3 separate regions of the Homo sapiens genome follow, and all the other regions are linked to region 2. The links are contacts of gene promoters, found by promoter capture Hi-C in human tissues and cell types (Jung and others, 2019). All regions are on one chromosome and are shown on one strand. Each heading gives the region's core, a stretch centred on a gene start or on the middle of the fragment in contact. The rest is flanking DNA. Distances are from core to core; before and after follow the strand shown. Region 1 overlaps HYLS1 (HYLS1 centriolar and ciliogenesis associated). Region 2 holds the start of ACRV1 (acrosomal vesicle protein 1). Region 3 overlaps LINC03136 (long intergenic non-protein coding RNA 3136).

Evidence for each region. Contacts are between HindIII fragments. The study calls those that stand out against the background at their distance.
Region 1: a fragment that was not itself captured here is called in contact with the fragment with the promoter of ACRV1 in region 2 in 2 of the 25 tissues and cell types used here (mesenchymal stem cells and spleen).
Region 3: a fragment that was not itself captured here is called in contact with the fragment with the promoter of ACRV1 in region 2 in 2 of the 25 tissues and cell types used here (mesendoderm cells and thymus).

Annotation. Positions count from the first base shown.
Region 1 is chr11:125,895,423-125,898,610 of GRCh38, reverse strand. All of the region lies in intron 2 of HYLS1 (HYLS1 centriolar and ciliogenesis associated), which reads right to left. It overlaps PUS3 (pseudouridine synthase 3), which reads left to right. Exons shown (of 4, transcript NM_031307.4): 2 at 2,281-2,704; 3 at 2,822-3,188. The coding sequence starts at 2,327. Among named protein-coding and RNA genes, the nearest start is that of PUS3, 6.2 kb to the left of the region's middle. The HindIII fragment of the contact is 5,970 bases long and covers 1-3,188 here.
Region 2 is chr11:125,679,141-125,682,178 of GRCh38, reverse strand. ACRV1 (acrosomal vesicle protein 1) reads left to right here and starts at 1,332. Exons shown (of 4, transcript NM_001612.6): 1 at 1,332-1,450. The coding sequence starts at 1,399. It also overlaps a transcript of CHEK1 not described here. The HindIII fragment of the contact is 2,782 bases long and covers 1-1,820 here.
Region 3 is chr11:125,874,199-125,877,287 of GRCh38, reverse strand. It overlaps LINC03136 (long intergenic non-protein coding RNA 3136), which reads left to right. Exons shown (of 2, transcript XR_007062935.1): 1 at 1-3,042. Among named protein-coding and RNA genes, the nearest start is that of LINC03136, 7.1 kb to the left of the region's middle. The HindIII fragment of the contact is 6,358 bases long and covers 1-3,089 here.

The DNA.
Region 1 (3,188 bases), core at 462-2,961, 220 kb before region 2:
CCACCTCCTGGGTTCAAGCGATTATCCTGTCTAAGACTCCGGAGTAACTGGACTACTACAGGTGTGGGCCACCACGCCTGGCTAATTTTTGAATTTTTAGTAGAGATGGGGTTTTACCATGTTAGCCAGGCTGGTCTCAAACTCCTGACCTCAGGCAACCCACCCGCCTCGGCCTCCCATTACAGGGGTGAGCCACCGCGCCCAGCTGTCTTGGTAGTTTTAATGCATCTTCAGTTGCCAGCTAAATCTGTTTATTCTAGTGTCTGAAATAACTTGGTATCCACATCAATCAGCCACATACCCAATGCTAGTTTCCTGACTGGATCTGAGATAGGTATCTACTGTCCACTATTTCCTGTGTCCCCACTATTTTTCTTTTTAAACTGAAAAACTAATACATGCACATGATAATTTTAAGCAAGGATTTTCCCTCCCCCACCAAGTTTTACTCTCAAAGGCAATTTCTTATGATTTATCTAGAAATTTTCCATATTCACATGTACATTTTTTTTTAATACCGTAAAGGACAACACTACACAACTCTTCTGAACCTTAAAGATAATCTTGGTTATCCAGCTATATCAGCACAGGCCGACATTCTTCATTTTATGTTGCGCGGAATTCCAATGTATGAATGTATCATAAATTTAGTCAGCCATTCCCTTACTGGTGTAATTTAGGTTTATAGGTTTACTGATGCTAACACGAGTATCTTGCAAGTTTTTATCTATTTGTGCAAGCATATGAATGGATTAAATTTCTAGACATGGGAGAGGTGGGCCAAAAGGTATGTGTATATTCAATTTTGACAGCTGTTGCCAAAATGTTTACCTCCAAAGAAGCTGTACTGACCATACATTAATAGAGCTTGTGTCTCTATTCCCTCTCCAAAGTGGTATACTATCAAACTTTGTCTTTGCAGTCACTTCCTTGAAAAATAGTTCATATCCTTTTGCATTTATCTCAGCTGAGTAAAATTGAGCATTTAAAATTTTTTTTAAAAAATTTTTATAAGCTTTTTTCTTTTTGTTTGAAATGCTTGGTCTTTGCCCATTTGACTCTCAGGTTGCTGGATTTTTTTTTTTTTTACTTTTTCATTAAAACTGATGTATATATTCATGAAATATATATTGAGGAAGGTCGCACTTTACCATCACTTATTTTTTTCTTCTCAGTTTGTCATTTGCCTTTTATTTTTTGCTGGCAGAAGTTTTTCCTTTTAGGTCACATCTTTTTCTAGTGTCTGGGTTTCTAGACTGTTTTGCTTAGAAATGCCTTTCCTACTCCAGAATTTCAGAAAAAAGTCATTCCATGTTTTCTTCTAGTACTTTCAGTTTCATTTTTTACAATTTAAACTTTTAATCTATTATAGATACAGAAACTCATAGTAAAAAACTAAGCTACCTATACTTAGATAACATGGCCTTAGAACAGATGTGGAGATGGTCTTCTCTAACTAAAGTAACCATCAGTCACAGATTGTCTAGGACCATCCCAATTTTAAGGATGTAGTACAGTTGTCCTCAGATTATTGAAATATTACAGGAATTTCTACACTGACATCTACATTACATCAGACTGACTTTTTAAACTATTAGAGGCACAGAAATCTTTTATCAAAATATGCATTTAATTCAGCTTTAGAAAGGGGTCAGAGTGCTTAATTATCTTTTTTTCTCCCATCAAAATTGCTTAAAGTGAGAAAATCTTGTCTCTAGCTTCTACTTCCAATGTGAAATACAACCATCGGTAAGCTTCTTCAGTTAGGCTAGCTTCTATTGCACCACCTAATATTCATCTAATGAATATTAGATGATGGAGCATACAAGTCATTTATTTGAGATAATGGAAAGCAATAGAAACTCAGAGCAGATAAAAGTAGCCCATATAAAGAAATCTTATGACTAGCAAATTGAACAAATACAGTGAGAAATCAAATGGAAATGTTTTAGAGAAAAAAATCTGTAACATCAGTCCTCAATCAATTCAGTGAAGATAGAGAAATGAAATCTATAGACATTCTCCCTGAATTTTGACTGCTTTAATGAAACCTTAATAATGACAACTGAATAACAAACAGTTCTTTCCCTCTGTGAACTGGCCAGACAGGATGGAAAAGAATGCTATCTGTGGATGATCAACCCACAATAAAGCTAATGCTTGTATTCCTGGAAAAGCAAAAGTATATTCTTTGGGCATTAAATTAAATCTTATATACCATTAGAACATCATCAAAGGAACTAGCATTGAAACTGTTGTATCCCTTTGCTCTCTTTTCAGACAGGGCAGACCTGTATGGTTCGTTTATTCCTGGGGTTGTCATATCATGGCTTATAATGACACAGACAGAAACCAGACTGAGAAGCTCCTAAAAAGAGTACGAGAACTGGAGCAAGAGGTGCAAAGACTTAAAAAGGAACAGGCCAAAAATAAGGAGGACTCAAACATTAGAGAAAATTCAGCAGGAGCTGGAAAAACTAAGCGTGCATTTGATTTCAGTGCTCATGGCCGAAGACACGTAGCCCTAAGAATAGCCTATATGGGCTGGGGATACCAGGGCTTTGCTAGTCAGGAAAACACAAATAATACCATTGAAGAGAAACTGTTTGAAGCTCTAACCAAGACTCGACTAGTAGAAAGCAGACAGACATCCAACTATCACCGATGTGGGAGAACAGATAAAGGAGTTAGTGCCTTTGGACAGGTAAGGGCCAATACACTGTTTCTCAAAGCAAGCAATACTAGGATATTCTAGGTATACACACTGAGTACTGAGATTATTTGTGTCTCTAAAACCCAGTATCTTTGTCTAACTCCACAGGTGATCTCACTTGACCTTCGCTCTCAGTTTCCAAGGGGCAGGGATTCCGAGGACTTTAATGTAAAAGAGGAGGCTAATGCTGCTGCTGAAGAGATCCGTTATACCCACATTCTCAATCGGGTACTCCCTCCAGACATCCGTATATTGGCCTGGGCCCCTGTAGAACCAAGCTTCAGTGCTAGGTTCAGCTGCCTTGAGCGGACTTACCGCTATTTTTTCCCTCGTGCTGATTTAGATATTGTAACCATGGATTATGCAGCTCAGAAGTATGTTGGCACCCATGATTTCAGGAACTTGTGTAAAATGGATGTAGCCAACGGTGTGATTAATTTTCAGAGGACTATTCTATCTGCTCAAGTACAGCTAG
Region 2 (3,038 bases), core at 83-2,582:
AAATGCCTCATTATGGGAACATCTTCCCAGGCAGCAAGCCATACTGCCCAGACCCGTCCTGCTCATACCTACAAGTACCCCAACCTGTACGAAGCAGTGGGCACTGGCATTAAGCTAGTCCCCCACCTCTGTAGGTCTTATGCTAGACAGAAAGCCTGGATTTGATGTAGAGCCGCCACTCTCTCTTTCTTTAACCCTCACCTTCCTTTCAAAATGTAACAATAAGTACATCTATTCTAGATTTAGCATTCAGTGGTATATAAAACAAAGTTGTTCAAGAGAGCTGAGCAGAGAAGCAGCGAGAAATGGAAGCTACCAGATCTTTGCCACTCAATCCTCCATAAGTTCTAGTTTTATATCAGGTGGATGCCTCACTGCATCCATCTTCTCAGCTTGGCCACCCCCTTGCTACCAAGTTGCAGCTCAAAACGCAGCTTTCTACTGTCTCTTGATCTCTTTACTCTGCCCATATCTGTGTAAACTCTCCTCAGTTACCCATTTGAGTTTGCCACCTGTTTCCTGCTAAAACCATGTTGATAAAGGTCTGTATGAAAAGACTATTTACAGAAGTGGGCAAGGTTAAGGAAACAAACAAACAAAAAAAGAGATAAGTTTGGGCATCCAGATTTTAGTAACAGCAGGAAACCATTATCATCCCTAGGCCTAAGAGGGCAGGGGGAGAAAAACATATTACCATAGCATGGATGAGAGCTGGAGCCATGGAAGAGAGGACACCCAACAGAAGCTCTGTCATGTAGACTCAGCCAGTGTCAACTGTGGCAGGAAGGGAATAGGAAGAACAAATATTCCAGTCTCGCTCTCTTTCTCCCCATTCCTCCCTTCCCTCTTCCTCTCTCTCTTTCTCTCTTCTCCCCTCCAATCCTGTATAAACCCAATCTGAAGCCAAATCCAGCCAGCATTCAGGTGATAAAGTCAACAGAGGTCAACCTTCCAGGGTACAGATCAGAGCCAAGAAAGGCTGATTTAGAAAGCCAAACAGAAAACAATCAACAATTACATCTCATTGTCAAAAACACTTTTAAAAGACAGTAGATATCTTTTAAACTTTATTACAAAAAATATGTGCTTTTTGGTAATACTTTTTTTTTTTTTTTAAAGATAGGGCAGATAGCCCCAACACACTACCCTGCACACAGAAAATAATCATTGGTCTTCACTAGTGAAATAAGCAGTGGGTTGCTAAGGGCCAACTTGCCTGAACAGGCTACACAAGAACCTCAGAGCCCAACCCATTGTGAAGAAACATGGGTTACTTCTGAGGTTCTAGAATTCCCAGAAGCTCTGCTTCAGCACTGGAAGCTTTTGCTCGCAGTTTGCTTCATAGCTCTGTGAAGAAGCTGTGGCCCACACTGGGGTCCCCTCTTTTCCTAAATCCAGATGAACAGGTTTCTCTTGCTAATGAGTCTTTATCTGCTTGGATCTGCCAGAGGTGAGTGTTTGATCTAGGCTTCAGGTAAATACAAAAGGGGTCTCCCTTAAGACATTTCAGGCCTTGAAGAAGGAAGACCAGTCTCTCAGTCACCCAAACCAATCTGAGTCAGAATCAAGAGCAGCTAAACAAGTCCAACTCGGAGAGCTCCTGAACCAGTTGATTTCTCTAGTCATAGCTTTACAGTCAGAGGGTCCCACTGGCTTGGCACAGTCTGGTTTCTACTTATTTTAGCCACTCAACATTTATACCTGATGCTGCATGAGATGAAAAAGTAGGCTTAGGGGTTCTGTAGAAGCCCAATGAAGGTTTGTCCCACCAATTAAATGTGAGGGATCCTTGTGTGGTTAATGTGCCAAGGAAAGATGGGAGATGGGAAGATGTAATGTGTTCAGAAAACAACCTCAGAACACGACAGAGCTATAGGCCAGAGACTTCATAAGCCTCTTCTTCATGGCTGTGTTATATCAATCAGGTTTTCTGTATCATCTCTTCTTTTGGGATCCCCCATTCATGGTGTGCTGTGTTCCCTCCTGCCTCCTACAGCAGAAAGAGGCCATGAGCTCTGAGCTTTCAGTGAAAAAACAATGTATTTTCTATAATGTCGACTGTCAGAGGTTTTGCTTTTTGCTTTGTTAGACCTTCAAAAGTTGACTCAAAAATGTAGATACACAGCCACCAGGTGATAGTATGTGCCAGTCACATGGTGACACGAGTCATAAACTATAAGATCAAGAAATTAGCATGCTTTTTATGTCTCCTTTCTATATCAGAAACATCTCTTTATCAAAACTTGTGTTAATTATTGAAAAACCAGTCAAGTAGATAGTATTTATGTAATAAGTTTAAAAAATAAAAACCTCCTAAAAGCTTTACTAAATCTTACCTTTCCTTTATCAACATATTCTCACCCTAGTCATTTAGAAAGTCACTGATTGTAAGTACTGCACTGTGCCAAGAAAATATATCTATCGCAAGATTCTTAGAGTTTTGAGTACTCTGGGGTTTTAGACTACCTCAGCCTCAAAGATCCAATAATTCCTCTCAGCTTTTGGCTAGAATTAAATAACTTGGTTGTTGTAGTCTACTTGTCTTCCTCTAGGTGGCTCAGTTTAATCAAAGAGTAATAATCAAATTATCTGTTTTGTGCTTCTGTTCACTTAAAATATACTTAAGGAATATTTGTCTGACAGTCAATGATGAGATGGATTGGCCAGACACAGTGGCTCATGCCTGTAATCCCAGCATTTTGGGAGGCTGAGGCGGGCGGATCACTTGAGGTCAGGAGTTCAAGACCAGCCTGGCCAACATGGCGAGACCCTGTCTCTACTAAAAATACAAAAATTAGCCAGGTATGGTGGCATGCACCTGTAATCCCAGCTACTCGGGAGGCAGAGGCAGGAGGATCACTTGAACCCGGGAGGCGGAGGTTGCAGTGAGCCAAGATTGTGCCACTGTACTCCAGCCTGGGCAACAGAGCGAGACTCTATCTTTGAAACAAAAAAAAAAAAAGAAAGAGACGGATTAAAGGTAGAAGAGACTGGCCAGAAAAAAATAACCATGTAAGAGTTTTGTAATTCCCAGTGTA
Region 3 (3,089 bases), core at 504-3,003, 190 kb before region 2:
GTGTTAGCCAGGATGGTCTTGATCTCCTGACCTCATGATCCACTTGCCTCGGCCTCCCAAAGTGCTGGGATTACAGGCGTGAGCCACCCGCCCAGCCTTGTCTTGATACTTCTTTGTTATGGGGGCTGTTCTGTGCATTTTAGGATGTTTGGCAGCATTCCTGGCCTCTACCCACTAGATGCAGCAGCACTCTTTCGATTGTGACCATCAAAAATGTCTCTAGACATCACCAAAAGTCTACTGTGGGAGTTACAACATCCAGGATTGAGAATCAACTATTTTAAATAAAAGGAAGACTAGACATGCCAGATTGTGAGTGAGGTTTTCTTGTATTTCTTTTCTTTTCTTTTTTTTTGAATTTTACTTTAAGCTCTGGGATACATATGCAGAATGTGCAGGTTTGTTACATAGGTATTCGTGTGCCATGGTGGTTTGCTGCACCTATCAACCCGTCATCTAGGTTTTAAGCCCCTCATGCATTAGGTATTTGTCCTAATGTTCTCCCTCCCCTTGCCCCCCACCCCCTGACAGGCCCCCATGTGTGATGTTCCCCTTCCTGTGTCCATGTGTTCTCACTGTTCAACTCTCACTTATGAGTGAGAACATGCAGCGTTTGGTTTTCTGTTCTTGGGTTAGTTTGCTGAGGCTGATGGTTTCCAGCTTCATCCATGTCCCTGCAAAGGACATGAACTCGTGAATGAGGTTTTCTTTACATCATATTTCTTTGTATCTGATTTACTTCTTAAATTTTTAGAAATAAGAGATCCTCTGTCACTTTATCCAATTACCTCCACTGGTAACATCTTGCAAAACTACAGTGCAATATCACACAAGGATATTAACACTGATAAGGTCAAGATAAAGAACAAAGTTCCCTCATGTTGCCATTTTATATCCACACCCAATGTCTTTCCACCCTAACTTCCTATTTAAATGGAATCATACAGTATAGAACTTTTTGGGATTTTTTTTTTTTCACTCAAAAAATTATCTGGAGATTCATCCAGGTTGTTGTTCTTTTCCATTGTTGAGCAGTATTCCATGGCTTGGATGTATCACAGTTTGTTTAAACATTTACCCGCTGGGGGACATCTGGATTATTTCCATTTTTTTTTTTTTTTTGCAATTTTGAACAGTGTTACTATAAACATTCACATACAGATTTTTGTGTGAGTATGTTTTCATTTCTCTGGGATAAATGCTCAAGAGTACAGTTGCCTGGCTACATGGTAGTTGCATGTTTAGTTTTAAAAGAAACTGCCAAACTAATTTATTTTCATGTACATTTTACATTCCCATCAGTGGTGTATGAATGATGCAGTTTTTGTGCATCCTCACCAGCATTTGGTGTTGTCAGTTTTTAATTTCAGCCACCCTCTAGGTATGTAGTAACATTCCATTGTGGTTTTAATCTACATTAAATTCAATGTAGCTAATAATGTTGAAAATCTTTTCATGCATTTTTTATTTGAATATTCTCTTTAGTGAACTGTTTTCATGTCTTTTGCTAATTTTCCAGTTGTATTATTTATTTTTTTAATGTTGAATTTTCAGAGTTCTTTATATATTCTAGATACTAGTCTTTTGCCAAATAGGTGGTATGAAAATATGTTCTCCTGGTCTATAGGTTGTATTTTTATGCCCTTAATAGAGCCTTTCACCAAGCAAAGCTTTTAAAATTTATTAAGTCCAATTAATTAATTTTTCCTTTTATGGATCATACATTTAGTGGCAAGTCTAAGAACTCTTTACTTAGTTCCAAATCCCCCAAATTTTCTCCTTTTTTTCTAAAAGTTTTATATAGTTTTACATTTTGTATATTTAAGTCTGTGATCCATCCTGAGTTAATTTTTGTATAAGGTGGATATGGTTTGGATATGGTTTGTTTGTCTCCACCAAAACTCATGTTGAAATTTGATCCCCTATGTGGTGATGTTGGGCTGTGGGACCTAGTGGGAAGTGTTTGGGTTTTGGGGGTGGATCCCTCATGAAATGGCTTTGCATTCTCACTCTGGCAACACAGGAATGGATTAGTTCCCATAAGAGTGGGTTGTTATAAAGCCCAGATGCTCTTCAGGTTTTCTCTCTTTGTACCTGTTCTCTTCTCTTTTGACCTTGTCTGCCATGTTATGACACCCTCACCAGAAGCCAGGGTGGCCATGTCCTTGAACTTCCAAGCCTGCAGAACCATGAGCTAAATAAACCTCTTTTCTTTCTAAATTACCCAATCTCAGGTGTTTAGAGAATGGTTTACCCTTAGAGAATGGTTCTGGTGAACTTCTGGATTTAAAATCTCCTTACTAATTAAGTACTGTTTTAACTGGGGGCAGAATGTGTGCCTTAAAAGAACGTAGGGACCTAATGGCTGTTTTCCTGCTGATGGGACAGTATCAGAACTAAAATTTGGCTTTGGAGGACATTTTACTCCTAATTGTTGAAGGCAGTGTTTTCGCATTCACAGAAGGGGCATAAAGCCTGGTCTCTAGTATAGGGGTGCAAAAAGGGAGGAGAATTGGGAGGCTAGAGTGTTACAGCAATGGACCAACGCTGTGCCTCATGGAGAGGATTCCTATTCCACTAGGTGGCGACGTTGACCTAGAAATACCGTGCGCTTCCCAGAGGAAGGGTAGAGGGAGAAATGCTTATTGAGAAGGGCTCTTTGCTCCTAGAAAATGACAGAAAACAGCATTCCCTTGTGCTATATTCTCAGTTACTATGGCATTCGCTAATCTTTCCTAACAGGACTATTTTCCTGAACTGTAAAAATTCTCAAACACTGCATACACAGAGAGGATAGGAGACATGGCCTTTGCGGATAGGAAATGAGGAAATTTTGCGATAGGACAGCTGTAGATCCTGTTGCGGACACCCAGCCGGGCAGTTGGAGGTGGGGTCAGTCCAGAAGCCTTCAGATAACACCAGGGTGTAGTCCTGGCGAGAAATCTTCAGTTGCTTCAGGACCTTTTCTAGCCCCACGCGACGGCTAGGTCCTCCGTGAGAGAAAACTGGTTCGAGAAGCATGGCCAACATTCCCAATGATCCGTGAGTATTGAGAAGTTCTCCATGTTCTCCCAAGCAAGCCTAACATC